Linked DNA regions of Homo sapiens: regions 1, 2 and 4 are each linked to region 3. Evidence: promoter capture Hi-C in 16 types of primary human blood cells and fetal thymus (Javierre and others, 2016). All regions are on one chromosome and are shown on one strand. Each heading gives the region's core, a stretch centred on a gene start or on the middle of the fragment in contact. The rest is flanking DNA. Distances are from core to core; before and after follow the strand shown.

What was found. The method cuts DNA at HindIII sites, captures the fragments that hold promoters and counts their contacts. A CHiCAGO score of 5 or more calls a contact.
Region 1: a fragment that was not itself captured here is called in contact with the fragment with the promoter of DYNLT5 in region 3 in 2 of 17 cell types (fetal thymus and activated CD4 T cells); the score reaches 7.4 in fetal thymus.
Region 2: a contact is called between a fragment that was not itself captured here and the fragment with the promoter of DYNLT5 in region 3, in 1 of 17 cell types (endothelial precursors). The highest score is 7.4, in endothelial precursors.
Region 4: a fragment that was not itself captured here is called in contact with the fragment with the promoter of DYNLT5 in region 3 in 2 of 17 cell types (fetal thymus and naive CD8 T cells); the score reaches 5.8 in fetal thymus.

What each region holds. Positions count from the first base shown.
Region 1 is chr1:67,111,681-67,117,682 of GRCh38, reverse strand. It overlaps C1orf141 (chromosome 1 open reading frame 141), which reads left to right. Exons shown (of 8, transcript NM_001276351.2): 5 at 2,219-2,331. Among named protein-coding and RNA genes, the nearest start is that of C1orf141, 20 kb to the left of the region's middle. The HindIII fragment of the contact is 4,606 bases long and covers 1-3,654 here.
Region 2 is chr1:66,448,278-66,453,882 of GRCh38, reverse strand. No RefSeq gene overlaps it. Among named protein-coding and RNA genes, the nearest start is that of SGIP1, 83 kb to the left of the region's middle. The HindIII fragment of the contact is 2,879 bases long and covers 88-2,966 here.
Region 3 is chr1:66,748,904-66,754,687 of GRCh38, reverse strand. DYNLT5 (dynein light chain Tctex-type family member 5) reads right to left here and starts at 2,229. Exons shown (of 5, transcript NM_152665.3): 1 at 2,104-2,229; 2 at 1-32. The coding sequence starts at 29. It overlaps SGIP1 (SH3GL interacting endocytic adaptor 1), which reads right to left. Exons shown (of 25, transcript NM_032291.4): 25 at 3,549-5,784. The HindIII fragment of the contact is 3,147 bases long and covers 1-2,889 here.
Region 4 is chr1:67,186,870-67,192,670 of GRCh38, reverse strand. All of the region lies in intron 4 of IL23R (interleukin 23 receptor), which reads right to left. Among named protein-coding and RNA genes, the nearest start is that of IL23R, 23 kb to the right of the region's middle. The HindIII fragment of the contact is 1,921 bases long and covers 572-2,492 here.

The DNA.
Region 1 (6,002 bases), core at 102-2,601, 360 kb before region 3:
CTCATTCTCATTCAAGTTAGAAACAGAACAATGCCCATTCTCACTAGTATACTACACTCTCCTAGAAGTCCTCCCCAATGATATTAATAAGAACATAAGATACATTTTTTGAAAGGAACAGATAAATTGTTTTACGGAGATTACATAATTATTTTTAAAAGAGAGAACAAACTGAAAACCCATTAAAAAGTACGATGATAAGAAAGTTCAATAAAAATTTACCAAAAATCTTATGCATTCAATAATTTTTTTTTTCTTTCGAGACAGAATCTCTCTCTGTCACCCAGGCTGGAGTGCAGTGGCACGATCTCAGCTCACTGCAACCTCTGCCTCCTGGATTCAAGCAATTCTCCTGCCTCAGCCTCCCGAGTAGCTGGGACTAGAGGCACATGCCACCACACCCAGCTAATTTTTGTATTTTTAGTAGAGATGGGGTTTCGCCATGTTGGCCAGGCTGGTCTTGAACTACTGACCTCAGGTAATCCACCCCCCTCAGCCTCTCAAAGTGTTGGGATTACAGGCATTAGCCACCGCGCCCGGCCTATTAGGCATTCAATGAATATTAAACATGTACTATGTACCAGTCATGCTATAGGTGCTAAAATACCACAGTGAATAAAACACATAAATAGTGTGCCCTCAGAGTTTACAATCTAGGATAAGATGGGGAGAGAGATAATAAACTAAATAAACAAATGAATATATAATATAAATTTACCAGTGATGAATTCTATAAAGGAAAATATAGTAAATTAAGGGAATTAAAATCAACAGGGATTACTATTTTAGATGGGGGAAGTGGGGTGGGCTGGAAAGTTCTTTCTGAAGAGGTGGAAATGTGAGTGGAGACTGAAATGAAAGAGTAGGCCACGTCAACCCCTTGTGGGGAGAATACTACAGGCAGAGGAAAGAGCAAGGTCCTTAAGTGGAGCCTAAATTCCTTTCCCTGAACCAAACAGGTAGAAAATTTGCTCAGCGTTCATGTGGAGCTGAGAGGTGAAGGGGTATGCAGAGAGAGGCCTGGAGTGGCATTCAGTGGAAATTCTGCTACTTAGAAATGAGAACTGGGGGAAAAGTTTCTGTCTGTTAGGGAGCATTTTGAATTTTAATCAAGTCTGATAGGAAACAGTTGAAGGAAATGATAGTCACATTTGTATTTTACAAGTGTTGCTATGGCTGTATTGCGAAGAGAATGTTGAGGACAAGTGTAATAGCAGGGAGAGCAAACAGAAGAAGGCTAGAGACATAGGGAAGGGGTTCAGATGAAAAATAAAGGGGTCTTGGATTTGGTTGGGAGCAATGAGGAAAGAGGTGTTTGGATTTGGAATCTATTTCAAAGAAAGACACAGTATTTGCTGATAGGTTGGGAGTGGAAAAAGAGAGAAAGAGAAATAAAAGATTTCTGCAAACTTTTTGGCCTAACCCTCTGGTTGAATGGAGATGGGGAAACCTGGGTGAGGAGAAGATCAGGAAGGGGATGGTGGAATCAATAATTTGGTTTTGAATATGTTAAGTTCAAGATACTTATAATTAAGCTAAGTGCAGGAGTCATGTGGGCAGTTGGATATATAAATCTGAAGTTCAGAGAAGAGGTTAGAGTCTGGACTATAAATTTGGGACATTGGCCTATAGACAACAGTTACAGTGTGGGACTGGCTTATACCAACTAAGGGTGAGTATCTGAGGTCTGAGGGCTGAGTCATGGGTTGTTCTAGCATTTAGAGGTCAGAAAGAGTATCAATTATGTAATACTATTAATTTTCTAATATACCATCACTAGCCAGTTAAGTAATTTAGAGGAGGATAATTTGTCTTTACAATAAATAAATGCTGTGATCCTTTCTAGTACCTGAATTCCCTAACTCTATGTCCCACCACTTTGATTCAGGTCCAGTAATGTCCTCAATGTCTCACTGAAGTTATTTCCAGCATATTTTTCTGAAAGGGTTAATCAGCTTGTGAATAAGTTTCTTGGAGTGCCCTCAATGCTATCACAGCAGCAAGTAGTTTTCTGTCCCCCTCCACTTTAAACGACTAAAACTAATATTTTCAGCTCCTATTTAATCAGTCCAATGTTTCACACTTGGTACTGTGACAACATTAACATAACATCCAAGTCTGTATAACTAGGACTTCACATTCCTCCAAATTTATTTTTTAGATTTATTTTGTAATTTTTCTCATTATTTTAATTTAAATTAATTTTTATTTCTTCCAGGCATGTCTCTTTCAAATGTGAGCCTGAACCTAGAAAGAGTAATTTTGAAAAGTCAAATTTAAGACCATTCTTTATTCAAACAAATGTAAAAAATAAAGAAAGTGAGTCAACAGGTAATGCTTTGTGTAACATATTTACTTCTTTGATTTATTAATGGGTGCTTTATTTATTTTATTATTTACCGATGTGTGTCTTAAAGGTTCTTGATAATTTGATCTCTGTCAAAAGCATTTCCATGAACTATAAAAAAGAACTTACTAAGAAGAAGAGATGTTAAATATCAGAATGGACAATTTATACAATTCACAAAATAGGAATATATTTTTATGTTTATAGTGTTATGTGTTGTTTTCTTCTAGAAAGAAAATCTCTGAGTTTCCTTTCAGCTCAATGCTGAGAATTTCCTTGTTATTGTTTTTTAGAAGTCAAGTATGAACAGCTTGCTTAATAGAAACTTACTTTCAAGTTAGAAATTTTAGGAATCTGGCTGGGTGGGCACGCTGGCTTACGCCTCTAATCCCAGCACTTTGGGAGGCCGAGGCGGGTGGATCCCCTGAGGTCAGGAGTTCGAGACCAGCCTGGCCAACATGGCGAAACCCCGTCTCTATTAAACGTACAAAAATTAGCCGGGCATGGTGGTGCGTGCCTGTAATCCCAGCTACTCAGGAGACTAGGCAGAAGAATCGCTTGAACCCAGGAGGCAGAGGCTGCAGTGAGCTGAGATCGTGCCACTGCACTCCAGCCTGGGTGACAAGAGCGAGACTCCATCTCAAAATAAAAAAGAAATTTTAGGAGTCCGTGAGCTAGGAATCAGCATTATCAGTTCTCAGAGAATTTGAGCTTTTCGTGTTGCCTTCGTTTTTCTCTTTCTCTCCATTATCAAACAATCATTCAATTGCATAATTCTCATCAACCTTCTTAACTGAGGTTTCTTGACTCCACATCACCCCCTATTGCTTAATTTCTCTATTATGCTTCATAACTTGATTTCTCAAAGGATTTGTTATACACATTGTTATTTTATTTCTCATGATTCACTTTCATAATGTCATATTTCCTTATGTGTCTTATTATCTTTGAATGTGTGCTGGACGGTATTTGGAAAATTATTTATAGGAACAATTTGAGAACTAGGGTGATGATACGTTACTCCAGAAAAGATTTTTTTTTTTTTTATTGTTTATGCCAGGTATATGGAGGCAGTACTTGTCAGAACATACTAAAGCATTCAAGGCTTCACTTTCCCTAAAACATCCAGGTGGCAATCTTAACTATTCTAGTTCACCCTAAGGTTGTAACCCTTTTGGATCCCAGGTAAAATGAATAGGTGTGGGGGTTTTTTGTGTGTGGGGGAAGGGAACTGGAGAACATTTAAATATCAAAACTTTGGACCTTTGGTCAGCTTTTTGTTTTTTTCTATCTCAAGCCATGAAGCTTCCAAAACTTGATCTTACCTTCACATCACAAATACTCTCAGGGAAAAAGTGGCTTGGCATGTTGGGCTTCCCTATCTGAGTTCTTATCTTCTCCTAGATTTAAGACCAGGGATCCCTTATCATCTTTTAAGTCAATGATTCTCTTTAGACTTTAAAAAATATTCAATCTAGCCTTTTAAGGTGTTTTCAGCAGGAGGGCTGTTACTAATCACCTGGCCTTCCATAATGGTAGCAAAAATCTCTAATCCATTTTCTTTCCTTAAATCATATAGTGATCTTTTAAAAGTAGGCTGATCCTGATTAAAGCCTCTTCAGCGGATTCTCATTGTACTTAGTATGAAACTTGTACTTCTTACAAAGACCTGGCCGGGCACGGTGGCTCATGGCTGTAATCCCAGCACTTTGAGATGCCAAGGCAAGTGGATCACTTGAGGTCAAGAGTTTGAGGCCAGCCTGACCAACATGGCGAAACCCTGTCTGTACTAAAAATACAAAATTAGCCGGGCATGGTAGTACACACCTGTCATCCCAGCTACTTGAGAGGCTGAGGCAGGAGAATCCCTTGAACCCAGGAGGCAGAGGTTGCAGTAAGCTGAGATTGCACCATTGCACTCTAGCCTGGGCAACAAGAGTGAAACTCCATCTAAAAAAAAAGAAAGAAAAGAAACAAAGACCTGTATATTGTGAACCTTGTGTGTGTATTCAGCCTCATTCCCTACCTCCCTGGCCTTCATTTAAATTGCATCTTCAACCAGGCAGGGTGGTTCACACCTGTAATCCCAGATCTTTGGGAGGTCAAGGTAGGCAGATCACTTGAGGTCAGGAGCTCAAGACCAGCCTGGCCAACATGGTGAAACCCCATCTCTACTAAAAATACAAAAATTAGCCGGGTGTGGTGGTGCACACTTGTAATCCCAGCTACTTGGGAGGCTGAGGCATGAGAATCACTTGAACCCAGGAGGTGGAGACTGCAGTGAACTGAGATGGTGCCACTGCACTCCAGCCTGGGCGACAGAGCAAGACTCTATCTCAAAATAAATAAACAAATTGCAACTTCATTAGCCTCTTTTCAGTACAACTACCAGATTGCCTGAAAGGAATATATATTTTCCCCTCTGCCTAGACACACCAATACTCTATTCATGCAACTTGTAGCTCATTTGCATATTTTGGTTAATGTCATCTGTTCAGAGAGGCGTCCTCTGACTACGCTATCAACAATATACCTCTTTTATGGTTCTCCCTCACCAAAGTGTGTTTATTTCTGTTACAGAATAAATTTCAATTATTCACCCCTTGGTTTTTTGTTTTTTGGTGGTTTTCTTTTTCTGACACGGTCTCACTCTGTTGCCCAGGCTGGAATGCAGCAGTGTGGTCACGGCTCACTGCAGCTTCGACCTCCCTGGCTCAGTAATCCTCCCACCTCAGTCTCTTGAGTAGCTGAGACTACAGACACACCACCACACTCAGCTAATTTTTGTACTTTTTTTTTAGAGACAGGGTTTCACCATGTTGCCCAGGCTAGTCTCAAACTCCTGGGCTCCAGTGATCCACCTGTCCTGGCCTCCCAAAGTGCTGGGGTTATAGGTGTAAGCCACTGCACAAGTCCAATGTCTTGTTTTTTTGTTTGTTTATTTTCCATATTACCCACTAAAATGTATGCATCATTGGGCAGGAGTCACAATTCCAGAGTCCATCAGTGTCTGGCATATAGTTGATCAACAAATAACTATTGATTGAATGACTACCAGACTCCGTATTAAATTTGTTACATCTATTATTTCATTTAACTCAGAAAGTATTTCTATAAGTGCTATTGTTTCCAGTTAACAAATGAGGAAAGTAAGACTCACAGATGTTAAGTAACTTTCCTATGGCTATGGCTATGTAACCCACACAAAAAGGTGCAATTTGGACCCAGGCTATCTAAGTCCAAAGTCTGTATGCCTGACCCCTGCACCATACTTACTTTAAGAATATCCATTGGATGATAATTCAGATTACTAAAACTCATAACTGAATATGAGAGAAATGCAGGTAGAAGGGACTATTTCTATTTCTCTTTTCAAAGGAATTAGCCAAAATATTTTTTGAATAACACATATGATTCTATTTTATTTAGAAATCCATCATTTTCCAAGACAATATAGCTTTATCATATAATAGTAAATAATTGAAAGTTATAGTCTGTTAATAGAAATTCACTTTAAGGCAAATTATTCTAAAATAGATTTAGCTCTAACCATGTACAAGCAATGCATATGTAAGTAAATAAAATTATTCTTTTACATTTCTTAAAAGTTTACTGCAGTGGAGAAAATGGTTGATTGGGTTTAATTAGAAGTAAC
Region 2 (5,605 bases), core at 278-2,777, 300 kb after region 3:
AGATGTACACTGAGCAGTAAAACTTAGAGGTGAGCACCATTGTCCCCAAAAGAACCGAGAAATACTGATAATGGTTTACCAAAAGCTTGCTACTGCCAGGCACTGTTGTAAAAGATTCACCAACCTTTCATGGACTCTAAGATGCATCCTTTGTAAGATGTATTATTATTTTATGAGCCACTAAGAAAGAAAAAAACTGTGGCCAATTAAATATGAGCCATGCTTTCTTGTCACTTTGAATTTTTATTTGTTCTTATTGAAAAATGATCCTTATTTGGATGTAATTTTAAAAATTAGAGATCATACTTGTTCACACATAAAAAGGAAAATATAAGTAAAATAAATTATTTAATCAATTTCTAAGCCTTCTTTACATTTGGAGTCTGCCCATTCTCAATCAGTTTTGACAGAATTGCCAAAGTCCGGGTTTGTCTACATAATGATGTCAGAGCCATGAAGAGACTCATACTGTCATATTTTTTACCAATACTTCACTCCGGGATTCCAGTTCCAGAATTTTCTTCCAAGCTGCTGACACCCATTTCCCAGTTTTGATACTTGAGCATCTTAGATCTGACTACAGGGTGTCACACAAAATGTTTTCCAACAATCAGGCTTCATGTTTCTTCCTCAAATGGTCCTTAATGGTTTGTGGCACAGAGCAGATGCAAATGTGTCATGCCACCTGGGACAGCAACTGTCTTAGCTCCTAAGCAATCATTAACCACTTTATCAGGACTGCTGCATGCCCATCAGTGAGTGTAAGCCCTATTCATTCTAAGAAGTTCTTGATCTTGAGATGTCAAAATGTAGGGAAAAAATACGGCCTTATGATTGACGATATACTGCTAAACCATTTAATCCTCGCAACACCATGAAGCAATTACTCTCATCTCCATTTTACAGATAGGAAAGTCAAGACATAGAAAGTTCTGGAAACTTCACACAGAACCAGGATTTTGACCTCAAGCAGTCTGGCTTTGGAGCCCCTCATCACATGGTTCTATCACCAATTCATGTCTGTGCTTAAGGGTCACTTCTCGGGGGATGCTTTCCCTGGACACCTAAACCAGGGTAGCCCCCTTTCCTCTCTAGATTGTAAACTCCATGAGGTCAGAGGCCCTCACTGTTGTATCCAACTATTTATAATAATGTCTGAGACTTAGTAGGCTCTATTTGATGTTTCTACACATCCTGGGGGAAGGAGGAGGCTAATAACAGGGCCCAGGGCATATATAGACTGAAAATACACAGGGACTTACCATTGTTTCTTGTGATCATTATGATAATAGAATAATTTGAAAAAAAATACATTGCAAGGAATCAGCCCATTCAAAATGCATTCACATCTGGCTCTCTCCATAAGCCCATCAGCTCCTTATACCTAAGGACCCATCATCCCTTTTTCAATGGCCCATCACATCCAACCTGTTGATGAGAGAAAGCCTAATGTCAGAATATGCTTCCCCTTGTGGTCAGACCCAGCTGGTCTGGTCCAGTCAAGATATTTATTTAAGATGCACAACACTGATTTTCAGGGAGGCCTCTGTTTGCTAACAGATTGAAGGAAAAGGGCTTCTTGGATTAAACAATGTGATATTTACTAAACAAACACTTCCCCCAAAGGTTAAACTTGTTCCTGTCTACATTGTTTGCCTTCCTGATTAGAAACAACGGCAATAAGACAGAATATGCCTTTTTAAAAATCTTCTTTACTTTGGTACTAGTAAAAACTGTTGGGCTGGGCACCATGGCTCACACCTGTAATTCCAGTGCTTTGGGAGGCTGACGTGGGAGGATTGCTTAAGGCCAGGAGTTCAAGACCAGCCTGGGCAACATAGTGAGACTCAGTCTCTACCAAACAACATAATTAATGAATAAATAAAAATAAAGAACTGTGTTAGCATCCACCCACAGAGACATACTAGGTTTTTCAGGCTGTCAGTCTTTATAGCAGGCACTGCCTTTTTTTTTTTTTCACTACTAAAATACTATTGCTTCCATTACTAAACATCAGTCTGTTCTTTAAAAAATATTTTTGCTTTCCTTAATTTGATGTAGATTCAGCTGGAAACGGGCTAGCTTCATCCTGTTCATCAACTCAAAAGGGAATCCTCAGGTGATTATAACCTACTGTTCCAAAGCAAAACTCATAATGAGATTATGAAGAACAAATAGAGGCACAACATCTTCATGTCTTTGGCAGGAAGAAAAAAGCGAATTACTAAGGACGTTTTAAAAACCTATATTGTGTAAAGCAATATTCTACGTGTTTTACAATAGTAACAAAGTTAATCTTTAAAATAACCCTAGGGGCTCTGATGTAACCGGCCCAATGAACTTCTGTTACTTGCCCAGATCACAGGCTGGGATGTGGGGAGCTTAACTGTGGGCTCTGGCAGGGTGTCTCCAGCACCCAACTTCTTTTTGTTTTGTGTGTATGTTTCATAACCTGCTTATATTTGCTTACACATTCTTTAAATATATGTGTACACAAAGCCACATGGGTATTTTCAGAGGAGCACATGGAACATTATACACATGTAAGTAACACAGTCATTGCCTCAGGGGCTTTTTTCTCAGGTGGCAAATCTGTTGCCTCTCAGAGGCTCTCAGTTACCCTCTCACTACCTTTTCCCAGATAAAAAGTGTACCCTGAAGTGAACCAGGCTCTGGAATGTTCCTGAACCTCCTTCCTCACCTCAGAAAGAACTGCCCTCTTAAGGGTCTAATTTATTGGAAAAATAATACATCCTAAAATGTTAATAATTTCTTATAAGTTAGTATCATAACCTTCCCAGATAACATATCTTTAAATCCATAATATGCAACCTTAATGAAGAGAAATTTAATTAGGTTGATAAGGAAGCTATTTTCTGTCAAGTAGATTATACGGCTCCCTTCTCTTAACCAAAAGGCCTTGGATATACTTGACATCAAGTTAAAATGAACTGGAAAGTCAAGCTTGTGCAGAGTAGGAAAAAAAAAATGAAAAAATGTAGCAATAGATACTTTTAGATTAGGCAGGTACTCTTAGCTAAAATTGTGTATCTTTTCTGAGCCTCTTAGCCTGAGACTGAAATAGATGCAAATGTTATCTCCTGCATCAGAAACAATCAGTTAACTAGAACCTAGTATATCCTGAGCTAAATTAGGTTTTTTACTAGGTACTAAATATAATGTGAGAGAGAAACGAATGTTAGGTTGACATGGTGCTTCCCAAAGCTTGCTTTGTTTAAATGGCATGTTTTGGTCCACTGACAAGGTGATTCTTTTTTCTCTGTCTTTAAATTTGTTAAAAAAAATTTTTTCTGACAGTGAAAACAAAAATAATAGCTCTCTCCTGCTAAGTATTTACTCTGCAATAGGCACAAGCACAGCCCTTCACAGTAATCCTCACAAAAGGTCTATGGAGTGAGTATTCTTGTCCTCACTTTACAGATAAGAAAACAGGGTGCTCAAAATAGCCACTAGCTTGTTCAAGTTTACGTAGCTAATTGGTAGCAGAGCCAAGATTTAAACCAAACACCCATGTACTGTGTTGGATAGTGTCCCCTAAAAGTCATGTGCTTCCCAGAACCTCCAAATATGACTGTATTTGGAAATAAGGTTGTTGCAAATGTAATTAAGTTAACATATAATTAAGATGAGGTCATGCTGGAGTAGGGTGGGTCCCTAATCCAATAAGGCTGGTATCCTTGTTAGAGGAGAGGAGACACAGAGACCCAGACACACAGGGAGATGCTGTGTAATGACGCAGGAGGCAGAGGTTAGAGTGATGAAGATTACTGGTAACTCCAGAAACTAGGAGACAGACATGGAACAGATTTTCCCCGAGAGGCTTCACAGAGAGTGTGGCCCTGCCAACAACTTGATTTTAGATTTCTAGTCTTCAGAACTGTGAGACATTAAATATGCCCGTGGTTCTAAGCCACCCAGTTTGTGGTATTTTGTTACAGTAGCTCTAAAAAACTGTTGGAGCTCAGGACAAATCACCCCTAAATATTCCTCTTGGGCATGCTATTTATTAGCAGATTATTTTGAGAAACTAGATGCAAGAGCGCTCTGAATAGCTACCCTTTTGTAAAATAAATGTGCATCTCTAAGGAAAATTTTTATTAATAAAGATATCTGTATTAAGGAAAGAGCTGCTCCTGAGACAACTCTTACCACCTGAGAGATCCTTATCTGTATAATGAGACCACATTTATTCACTGTACATTTCCCCCCCCTCATCCTTCCATAACTTGTCCCCACTACTCCTTAGGAGCCCCAAACCCCTCTTTCTGTCTGTAGCTCAGGATTCCATAATATATAAGCATCAATCATTCAGCTCTTCTTTGAGTCTCATATTTTTGTGGGACTCCTGTGCATACATACACAATTCAAATTATTTTTCACCTGTTAATATGCCTTATGTCAATTTAATTCATGGCTCAGCCAAAGAACCTGAAGGGTACAGAGAAATCATTTTTTTCTTCCCATGCAAACCTAATACAGCTTGCAATCCTAAGCAATAGACCCTGTCTACCTATTTATTGTAGAAATTTTAGAAAACAAAGAAGAAAGTGTACAAAGCATTCTTGATCCTATGTTCCCAAGTCCATCACTATGGATTGTATATTTTTAAGTTTGTTTTTGCTTCCTCCCAAACACCATTTCATTCAGTTTCATCGTTTAAAAATAGCAGCAACTCTCTTGTGTATTTTCTTTCATTTTATCATTTGATCAGCTCTACTCCTTGTGGGATGTGCTTTAAAAATAGTGAAAATGGCTATTAACCTCAGAATCCTCAGTTTTTTTATCATCGTCATAACCACCATGATCATTTCAGCTCACCATCTCGCCCTACCTTCCTAACTGCTGCTTTGCAAGCCCTCCTCCTGCTTGTGCACCAACTTTTACTCCTGTAACTCCAAATTAGTTGCGTTAGAATTTGCTTCCATCATCTCATCTATGTATCTTGATCATCTGTTTGGATATACTATCCTTTTATATCTCTGGGCTGTGTTATAGGTAATTTATTCAAGTTATATTTTCCAACTCTCTAATAGTCTTTTCATCTTTGTTTAATTTGCTGTTTCATTCAGCCATTGCGATCCGGGTGTGTATTTGAAATCTACGAGTTTTATTTAGTTCTTTCTAAAATCTGCCATATTGGTTTTTAAACTTTTGTATTTATTTTTTGAATGTGTTTTTTTTGTAGAGATGGGGGTCTCACCATGTTGCCTAGGCTGGTCTCAAACTTCTGGGCTCAAGGCCTCCCACCTTGGCCTCCCAGAGTGCTGGAATTACAGACATGAGCCACTGCGCCCAGCCCAGTTTTCACATTCTGTTTTTCTTGCTTTTTTAAAATTTCCTTTTCCATTTCTTTTGACCTTTTACACATGGTTGTTTCTGTTGACAAAAAGCCAAACTCTGTAAAATATTTGAAGAGATTTCTTCTAAGTCAAATGCAAAGACCATGACCCATGATACAGCCTCAGGAGGTCCTGAGAACATGTGCCCAATGTGGTTGGGTTACAGGTTGGTTTTATACATTTTAGGGAGACACAGGACATCAATCAATACATATGAGGTATACATTGCTTTGGTCTGGAAAGGT
Region 3 (5,784 bases), core at 980-3,479:
CTGCCTTTAGCATTGTCTGACATCATCATAACCTATGGAAGAAGACTTTTGTAAAATAGCAAAAGAAAGATCCGGAAACATTTTAGTTAGTATAACAGGGACTAATCTCAAAGTACACAGATAGTTTTCCTACCATTTTTGAACAGGAAAGTGGGGTTTCCTCAAGAGCAATATATAGAATTTGTTGTTATTCTGATCAGTGAAACTGGAACTATGATAACTCTGAAAATGCTTATTTATGCAATAGTATAATTATTTACATAAGCAGATATTAAGCTATAGCAAAAATGCTTAGCTGATGAAGACGGAGGTCATTGACAAAAGATATGCATGTATAGCAGAAAGATGCTATCCTACATCAGAAACCAATATTTGTATTGCCCCCCAAATGTAACCATAATACAACTTTGCTAATTAATATTTGCTGTCACTGTTATATTTTATTTTTGAGACAGGGTCTTGTTCTGTCACCCAGGTTGGAGTGCAGTGGCATGATCATGGCTCACTACTGCCCCAAACACCTGGGCTCAAGCGTTCCTCCCAACTCAGCCACCTGAGTAGCTGGGACTGCAGGTGTATGCCATCAAGCTGGGCTAATTTTTAATTTTTTGTAGAGATAGGGTCTATGTTGCCCAGGCTGGTCTTGAACTCCTGGGATCAAGCAATCCTGCTTCAGCCTCCCAAAGTGCTGGGATTACAGGCATGAGCCACTCTACCTGGCCTATTTTATTATTTTAGAGACAGGATCTAGCTCTTGTTACCCAGGCTGGAGTGCAGTGGCATGATCATAGCTCACCGTAACTTCAAACTCCTGGGCTCAAGCGGTCCACCCACCTCAGCCTCCCTAGTAGCTAGGACTACAGGCCTGCACCACCATGCCTAGCTAATTTTTAAACATTTTTGTAGAGACAAGATCTTTCTGTGTTGCCCAGGCTGGCCTTAATCTCCTGGCCTTAAGTGATCCTCCTGCCTTGGCCTCCCAAAGTGCTGGAATTACAGGCATCAACCACTGTGCCTGACCCACCATGACTTTAAAAAATAAAATTAGGGGTAGGGAGCTAGAAAATAAATAAATAAATAAAAATTAAAATTAACCTTGCTTTCCCAAAGATTTTTTGTTGTTTGTTTTGTTTTCTCGAGCAACATTTACATAGTTTGTAAAGAGCAAATAGGACTTAACTTTTAAATAAATAATTTATTGGAAAACTCCCTCCTTCCTACTAATACTTGTTAAAAAGCTGGTAGTAGCAATGGACTTCCCAGAACTTGGACTATAACTCTAATAATGCCCTCATTGTCTACCTACAAATTTAAGTATTCATTTAAATTATTTCATAATCTATAAATGTGAGAGCCCCGATAAGGAAATACTGTGCTAGACACCAAAGCATAAAAATAGAAGAGAATCCATGCCTTCAAGGAGCTGGCAGTTGAGTAGGTAGGGCACACAAGAACATACCCTAAAACCCAGTGGCATCAATGTCAGAGCAGAGGTGCTGTGTGTGGGTGAGGCAGGCAGCGTGGTGTGTGTGTGCACGTGAGTGTGAGCGTCCTTGAGTGTGTACCTGTGAGTGTGCATCTCTGTGTGTGCAGGTGCCTGTGTGTATAAGTGTGTCTGTGTTCGTGTGTACGAAGGTGAGTGTGTTTATGAGTGTGGAAAGACACACAGCCTGATTAGGTGGGTCATTCAGGTTTTGCTGCAAAGCCACATAGACCCATCTCGGCCTCAGCTGTTTCCAAAGCTGCCCTGCAGGCCGCCCCCTCCCCAAGAAAGGCCAGAGTTGGGACCTGGAGGTCCTCATGGGTGCGGCCAGCCACAGGAAGACCGCCCCGGGTCAGGGGATGACCTTGCTGGCCGGCTCTGCGTTGGCCATCACTCTTGAAGCCCAGCCCCCAGCCATGCAATGGGGCAGGGGACGAACCGTTGGGACCGACTTTCAGTTCCCAAATTTGGGATCATTTTTTCTTATGTGTTGGGGAGAGGAGGAATAAGGTGGCGGAGAGATCGGGGCCAAGTAGGGCCATTTCTCAACAAAGGGCCGATCCCTTGCCCCCTATCCTTCCTTTGGGGTCCAGACGCGCTGCAGAGAGAGGCGACCCTACCTGCAGCAGGGAGGCTTCGCCCGGAGCCTCCCAGACCTCCGGCACTGCAGACACTGCGCGCGGCGCGGCTCCCGCGTCCCAGGCTTCATTCAGCCGGCGGCCGCCCGCGCACTCTCCCTGGACTCTGAGGCCGGTCTCCAGGGTGACCTCAAACAGAGCCCTCGGCCCTCCCCGGCCGGACTTGGCCGCTGAGTGGCCCTCTGAGCTGCCCTAAGGATGTAGAGGATCTCATCTTCACTGCCCACTGGGGGTCACTCTGAGCCGGGCTGCGTCCTGGGTTGGCGGCGAGCTGGAGGGGAACTGGTTCATTGTGTAGCGAGGAAGACATTTGGGACTAAAGACATTTGCACCCCTAGGGCCCCTCATCAAGTTCCTTTTCCCGCAGACATCAGGGGCAGGAGTGGGAAGTGCTGCGGTTTCCTAGCACAGGAAATCCGAAGCGCAAAGACAAAGTAAAGTAGCCCTGCCCTTTTCCCGGCTCCTAACGCTGCTTCGCACGTTCCCCCTCCAAGGCACAGGCGGTGGAATGTGGAGGTAAATGAGCACTTACATTGGCCAGATACCCCAGATACCGACAAACATTGGGATTTAGTCGTCCCAATAACTCTGTCAAGAAAGGAATGTTTTCCCTTTAAAGGATTTGGAAAATTGAGATTCTAAAATGTTAAATAATATGCCCAAGGCCCCTGAAACTCATGGTCTTAACTCCAATGTGTTACAAACCGGGCTGGGTTCCTTCGCTTTCCTTAACAAGACTCTTCTGAGCCTGTTAATGTCTAAGAAGCTTTGAAATGAGGCTGTTTGGGGTTGAGGACCTACCTGCTGGTATGAATGGGCTTTTCCTCTTCTTCAGCGACTATCCCCAGCCTAAGCCTGGTTTGGGCCTCCCCAAACCAAAAGCAAACAAAATAAACACTATAGGGACCCTCCTGTAGTGGGCAATCATTGGAAGCAGAAACAAGATGCCTCCAAGCATCTAGCCAAGGGCATGGCTCTTGATGAGTGTCCTGCTGGAATTAGCATTAGCTGACAGTAATACATTGGGATTCCGGTGGAGCACAGTGTTAGGATAGTGTTGGAAGAAGAGAAATAGATATTTTTGCCCATCCCAATCTCTACTCACAGAAAGATAAGAACAGGAAAGGATTGTTGATTGAATATCTACTATGGACTAGATAGGAACTGCTAGGTGATGAATAAACATTATCTCATTGAATTTGTTCAGTGACTATGACATAGGGGACATTACTCTATTTTTTTTTAAGATAAGGAAATGTAGAATCGTTGAGTAACATGCTCAAGTCGATATTTAAATCACAGAGCTGAAATTTGTCTAACTCTTAACCCTTGACCTTTGACAGACCTTTGGCCCACCATCCCTACCCTAAACATGGAATGAAGTTTTCCAGAAATGCGGGTAAAATTTTAAGAGGCTGACAGCAAAAGATATTCACAATTCAATTTATTTTCATATTTTTCATTTATTTTCCAGAAAAAGAAATCACATTTCAGTAACAACTTACATATAGAATTAAACTTTGTTCTGGAATGGGAGCCCTAGTTGCAGTAACGTGTCATAATAAATAATTGCATATTCAGGATTTTGTGAAATAGGTGATTGGGAAAATTATGAACAAAAAACATTTACAAAAATTATTATTTACAAAGAGTGATATCCATACTATTTCTAACTTATAAGGCAAGTAATGTTAAGATGGTCTCATGATTATCTTCAACAAGTCAATTACACACTTTCCTGTCACCATTGCCCAGCAGAGAGCTTTGCTGCAATTCTGTGAAGGAGCAAGTAAGTCTTCGCTTCCGTTGTTGGTTTTCTCTTGAGCACAGCATAGAAGCAGTAAAGCTTTCATTACAGACTAAGCAGTAATGGCTGTCAGAAAAAAGTATACTCTTTTGAAATAGACGTGTAGGAAAAAGGCTGGGAATCAACATTTTGACTAAATTTTGAAAGTATCTTGAGTATTTTAATTCACAGTTTTGTAAGTATTTTATGCCCAAGGTATTTTTGTGAAATTATGTACTTAGTACAAGATTAAAAAGAAATTTAGTGTATTTTTGCTACATAGATCAAAGAGAGCTCTAAATAAAGGCTACCACCAAATCAAATTACACACAGCATTTTCCTTAATTGACAGGATTTCATTACCTATAGAAACACAGCAAAATCTTTCTGAGATTCCTAGATTCTTGCATTGTTCAAGTTTAAAAAAAATCAATGCCTTACATGGCCACTTAGTAAGAATGAAAATTAATATCCGAGTATTTAATTCATATGATCTTTTACTATACAAGTGAAAAACAAACAAAAACTCTTTTTAATCGAAAACAATAGTGTTCAAACAGCTTAAAAAGCCAGCTGTATACATTACTGCTTGGCCTGTGGTGAAGCTCTGTTCATAGATAAGATTAATATATCATCATATCAACACTTGGCTTTTTCAAGAAAAATTATTCAGCAGCAATTTTCCAATTCCCCTTAGACAGAGAGGAAAGAGACACACACACACACACACACACACACACACACCCCCACACACACACAGAGAAAGAGAGAGAGAGAGAGAGAGAATATGAATTAGATAGGAGCCAATCTCTTTCATGTATGTCCATTTAACAAAGCAAGAACTAAATTCTGACCTGAAAAATCAACACAGCTATATGAATTATCATTCTAGCAACTTGAAAAGGGAAAAAAATCTGACTTTGGATCTTGGGACAGTGGTTCTTGTGATAGTTACTTGTTGTATGATTTAAAATACCTTAGAGTGATGGTGAATGAATAACATCAAGCATTTACTTTGCGAGAAAAAAAATTCATAAAAGTAATGTAAAACTGAATGAGCGAGATGGAATTAACATTTGTATGATATACTCATTCAATGGAACGTTTAAAAATTATAAATGGCTTATGATCTATCAGGCTGATTCACAAACTCTGGATGGATTAAAAACTGAACTATCTTTAGAGAAATGTAAAGTGATTCAGTTTGATTCTTTTCTATATGATAACAGACAATTTAACCAGGAAGTTTTTAAAGAAACTTCGTTAATTTGGTATAAAAGTAACTGATTGGCAAAGTAAAGCAAAGCAAAAAAAGAAAAAAAAACAGCAAAAAAAAAACCCTATGAAATGCTCATTAAAAGAGTATAGAATCTCACAAAATCTGTGCTAAACAGTGCACTGCTCTTAGCTTTCCCCAAAGTGTTTTTAATATAATTTCTGACAAGCTGATGTAAAAATACTGTCAACATTGATCTATCATGATTCAGTTTCCTAAAGCTGTTTAGTAAAACGTTACTGGAGATTATTCACTGGCATTAATTCCACACGGCAAAGAATTGGAAACATCTTCAACAGATAGGGGTCTGATATGCTGGTCATAGGTGCAAGCCTTAAAAATAATACAAAAATTAAAATAATTTTATTGTTTTGTTTTGAATATTTTAGATGATAAAGTTAAATTCACTAAGAGATACTAATGAAATTTAAAATAGATAACAATTCATTTGAAATGACAGGAATTCTCTTAAAATTAAAACAAAATTCCAGAAGCATTTTTTTCAAAGCATTCCTGGTTATTTTATTTACAATTATTGAAGGATATATAAACTAGTGTTAAAAGAAAACTTTTCCAAAGGTTTCTCAAGGTGTGCTTAGAA
Region 4 (5,801 bases), core at 283-2,782, 440 kb before region 3:
ATACAGTTGCCATTTACTGAAATGGAAAATGCAAGTCTTGGGAGAGGAAACTGGGTGTTTGGTTTTGAAAATGTTAACTTCAAGATACCTTGAATGACAGGTTAGAAACATGGCAGCTGTATTTGGTGGAGATATTTAGACACAGATATACATTGAGGAATTTTAAACCACAAATTTGAAGGCTATCCTTTAGGTAATGACTGTAAATAGAGATAATAAAAGGTCCTAGGTGTGAAAGTTGCACATACCAGGATGAAATCACTTTTGTCAGACCCAGACAAAATAGGGCAAGAAAGGCCTGAAGGAGAAGAGGCCCATGCTTACATGTCTGAGATAAGAACTGTTCCCAAGGACTTTCTAAAAACCTTTCAGTCATCCCCTGCTTTGATAAGGTTTATCACTAGACATCCTTTAGGACTGCAGTAATCCAGATAAGATGTTTTTGGAAGACCGCTTACCCAGTAATACATCTCCACTTATTAATTGACAATCACTCTGGCTTTGAGCCTCTGGAACTAATGAACTCTGTTCCTAAATAGCTCACATATATTCCTTTTTGGTAATAAAAGCTTCCCTTTATCCTTTCCCTCACCAAATGCACTGCTGGCTTGCCATGTCATGCATTCTGTATTATACTCCTTATTTATATTCTCAAGTAAACCCAACAAATTTGAAGATAATCTTCCCTAGTGTCTTTTTTTAGGCTGACAAAATATAGAGCTCTGGGTCACTATGAATTTATCTGAAATGAAGATGAATCAGCAAAAGAGACTGAGATAAAGTTTCCAGGAAGGTGGGAGGAGCAGCAAAAGGGAGTCCTGTCCTGGAAGCCAAATGGAGGAAGTGAAGAGCTACATTAAATGCTCGGATAGTAAATGTTTCATAAGTAAGATAAAGACTGAGAATAAGCCATTCAATCTGGCAATGGGGAAATCATCAGTGACTTTGACAGGAGCTGTTTCAGTGGAGTGGTGAGGACATAAAACATGACTAAACTAGATAAAAGAGAAGAGAGAAAATAGAGACAGACAGTGCAGACAACTCTTTTGATTTTTTTTCATAAAAAGAAACAGAGAAATTGGGTGGTAGAGGTCAGGAACAAAGGGAGGGTTATATTTTTCAAAAGGGCAAAGGCTACAGCATGCTTAAAAGCCAATGGGAATGATCCAGTAAAGACAGAGACAATGACAATGCAGAAGGAAGAGAGGAAAGTTTTGGAGCAGTGTCCTCCAGTAGGCAGGCAGGATAAGATCTAGTACCCAAGTGGAGAGTTGACCTTAGGGCAATGGTAATTCATCCATAGCAATAGCAGGAAAGATCAACTATATGGGTACAGATGTCAATGCATTAGTCAATGAGGGAGGCTGTGGTATTTCTCATTGCTTCTGTTTTCTCAGGAAAGTAGGAAGCAGGTCTTCAATAGAGAGTGAGGAAGGGAAGATACTAGAGAGGAGAGATGACAGAAAAAGTAATGAAGCAATGACCTGGCTTAGCAAGACAGTGACTTGGCTAGTGAAATGTAGTAGGATTACTGTGTGGCTCTCCGGGCCCAGTTGAGGTTAGTGGTCATGAATATAAAGCAGTATCAGTCAGCAAGGTTCTGTTTGTCTCCAGCCACAATTAGCTCTCTGGGCTCATAATCAGTGAGGAAATGGATTCTAAAATATAAACTACATTTTGAGTCCTAAAGGAATTACTGAAACCTAACGTAGCCTTAAAAATAGTATTTGGAATCACACCTAAGAACTCTTTCTGGTTATTAAAAATATGCATGTAGAGAAGCTGTGGCAAAAACAAACAGGCCTTATGAATTAGCAGAGTAGGCCGCTGAATTTAAGGGCTCTAACATGATACTGCATCTGAAAACATTTGCCTTATTGGTCTTCTACGGTGCGTGAAAATCCCAACATTGATGTTATTCTAAACTGTTTATGAGCTTGTCATGCACAGAGATGATCTCTTTTTTTTAAATATCTACAGTTTAATACAATTCCAGGAAACCATCAAATGCTAAATAAATATTTGCTAAGATGACTTGAATGGAACAGAATGCAGGGCTATCATTCATGCATTTTTATTCAACAAATATTTATGGAGTAGAATACACTGAGCCAGACATTACCAGTGTTTCCAAGATAAATAAAAAATATATTTACATGAAATTGCTGAAGATAGTGGGACTACAGTAGGGAGATGGTTATTAGCACTGGTTTTGTTTTTTTTTTGGTTTTTTTTTTTCCCTATCATTACCCTTTGAAACAGCAAAATACAGGAGGTAAAAGAAGGTATGTGAACAGCCAGGAGGCTCTGTCTGGTGAGGCCACCGCAAAGGAGCTGGGAAGAAAGAAAGCTCTTGAAGCAAAACAGACAAAATTCTACTTTACAACTTCACCCCAACATGAGGAGGCCTGTGATGGCACCTATGTTGCCATAGGGGAAACACTGCCTTTCTGCAACTGGAGAAATGAGTAGGTGGTCTCAGGTAAAAAGCTTCTCTCTACATGTGATTTTACTGGAAAACTGAACCACATGAGTTAGAAGTGAAACCTTGCACATGCTGATCTCTGCCTAGTTACCAATGTGGAAAATACCCTAATAACTGAACGTTTAGAAGAGCTCCTTTAAACATAATACTACCTCGACCACAACATTCATTATAAGTCAGCTTTCTCCTTGAGGGAAAGATTTTTTCTGGTAGTTAGGGAAATTGACTTGCTCTTTTCTTTCTTTTTTTTTGAGACAGGGTCTGGCTAAGTCGCCCAGGCTGGAGTACAGTGGCTCACTGCAACCTCTGCCTCCTGGGTTCAAGCCATCTTCCCAAGTAGCTTGGACTCCAGGCACCCGCCAACACGCCTGGCTAGTTTTTGTATTTTTTGTAGAAATTTTTATATTTTTTGTATTTTTCGCCATGTTGCCCAGGTTGGTCTCAAACTCCTGAGCTCAAGCAATCCACCTGCCTCAGCCTCCCAAAGTGCTGGGATTACAGGCATGAGCCACTGCGCCCAGCCCTCTTCTCTAATTTTTTTCAACTCATTAGTTTGTTTGTAACTAATCATTAGATAAATAGGTGTTTGTTTCCTTTTCTGACCTGTCTATATTTATAAGTTAGTCCTTTGACTTTTCTAGAGGAGAACATTCACTTTTATTCTAACCTTTTATATCTTTTATGTCCTGTTTAGAATGTAATAAAATCCCATTAATCTGGCCTCCATCAATTCAGAACTTGGTTAGGTTTATCAGAGTTTGGTTATAGTTTATTGTTGGATTTTAAGAAAGAAGATGGGAAAAATAATTTATAAAATATATATGACCTTATATTATTACTTAACTAGACAGTGAAGGGGAGATTCAGGAAATGTCTATTTCTAGTTATCAACTAGAATAATTACTCAACAAATATTTATTGAGCATTTACTATGTGTCAGGCCCCATTCTAGATTCAATCAACATAGCAATGAAAAAATCAAACAAAAATTCTTGCCCACATTAAGCCTACATTCTAGTTTGAATGAATAAATGTACTATTGACATACAAAAAATAAGTCTTTCTATTAGAGCACATGCAACATCTCTTTCTAGATTTTTCCAAAATTATTGTATTACTTAAAAATATATGAATAAAATTATCTATAATATCCTATAAATAATAATTTTTATGGCTTTACATTAATATTTCCCTCAATCAAATCGGTCAGGTTTCCCTTAGGCCATAATATTATAATATCCTTTGCTATAGTCTGAATATTAGTGTACCCTCAAAATTTACATGTTGAAACTTAAACCCCAATGTAATAGTATTAAGAGGTGGGGCCTTTAGAAAGTGGTTAAGTCATGAGGGCTTTTCCCTCATGAATCAATTTAGTGCCCCTATAAAAGAGGTTGAAGGGAGCTGCCTGGCCCCTTCTACTATGTGAGAACATATAGAAGTCACCATCTATGAAGAACAGACCTTCAAAATCTGTTGACACTTGATCTGGGACTTCCTAGCCTCCAGAACTGTGAGCAACGAATTTCTGTTTTTTACAAATTACGCAGTCTAGGTGCTTTGTCATAGTCACCTGAAGGGACTAAGACATCATTTTGTGTTGTACTTAATTCTAAGCATTTCCTATATGCAAGTCACTTCCTATAATTTGCTTTTTTATAAGCTTTGTGGCATTAATTATCCTCATTTCACAGGAGGCTGAGGCTCAGCAAGGCTAAATAACTCTTCTAAGATTACACAGCTAGCAACTATGGCAGATACTGTTGGATGACGGTATCCAACTCCATTTACAATGCCCTTCTGCCAGGTTCCCATCCAGACAGAGTAGACATGTGACACTGTTGTGGCCAACTCAGTGTAGGTCGAAGTCCACAGGAGGAACTCCTTTGCTCTTTACCACTTTTCCTGCCTGGAACTTGGATAAGAAGCCTGGAGATACAGCATCTGAAGATTAAGGTCAACACACTGAAGATGGCAGAGTAGAAAGAGGAAAAGAGCCTAGATCCCTGGGGTATTACTGAATTATCATGCCATCTGTTACTACATATAATTATGACCTGATATAAATAAGTCCATGTCTATTTAAGTGACTGCACTTGAGTTTTTTTATTTTTCTTTTATTTTTTTGTTTTTTGAGATGGAGTCTCACTCTGTAGCCCAGGCTGGAGTGCAATGGCATGAACTCAGCTCACTGCAACCTTCACCTCCCAGGTTCAAGCGATTCTCCTGCCTCAGCCTCCCAAGTAGCTGGGATTACATGCCCTGCTAATTTTTGTATTCTTAGTAGAGATGGGGTTTCACCATATTGGCCAGGCTGGTCTTGAACTCCGGACCTCAAGTGATCCATCTGCCTCAGCCTCCCAAAGTGCTGGGATTACAAGCGTGTGCCACTGCGCCTGGCCAGCACTTGAGTTTTCTGATATTTGTATCATAAAAGACACCTGACTGGTAAGTTTCAGAACTGGAAATTAAATCTAAAACTCTAAAGCCCATGCTCTTCCCAATGAATATTTCTGAAAGCATTCTCTTTAGTAAACTCATTCTTAATACTTTCAGAGTGACTTTTTGAGTACTGAGAACAATCTTAGTACTCATAACTACTACAAATATTCCTTACTTTATAAAGTGAATGTGTTCCTCAAAAGTCATGTGTAAATAAATGTAAACATACATAATTTTGAACACATTAAAGGATTTTAAAAGAAATATATAATACATAGTCATATAAAATATTCAGAAAATATTTTTATGATACTAAATAGGAAATTAGGTGGGGGTTAGCAAGTTTAAAATTGTATCCAACAAATATATTTTTTCAAATTGTGGTTCATCTGTCTGGAATTTGCAATGCAGTTTTACTATCAGGAACCTCAGAAGGCAGGTAAGTCAGGCTTGAAAGAATTAACCTGCATCCACTAGGATGGCAATAACCAAGATAAAAACAAAGGTTGGCAAGAATGTGGAGATACTGGAACCCTTATACACTGTTGTTGGGAATGTAAAATGGTGTGGCTGCTTTGGAAAACATTATGGCAGTTGAACAAAAGATTAAACATAGAGTTACCAAGAGACCCAGGAATTCTATTCCTAAATATATGCCCAAGAGAAATAAAAATATGTCTACACAAAACGTGTACACAAATATTAATAGAAGAATAATTCATAATAGCTGAAAAGTGGAAACAACCAAAAAGTTCATCAACCAAGGAATAAATAAATAAAATGTGTTCCAAATAATGGAACATTATTAAAAAAAGGAATAAAGGGCCAGGCGCGTTGGCTTATGCCTGTAATCCTAGCACTTTGGGAGGCCAAG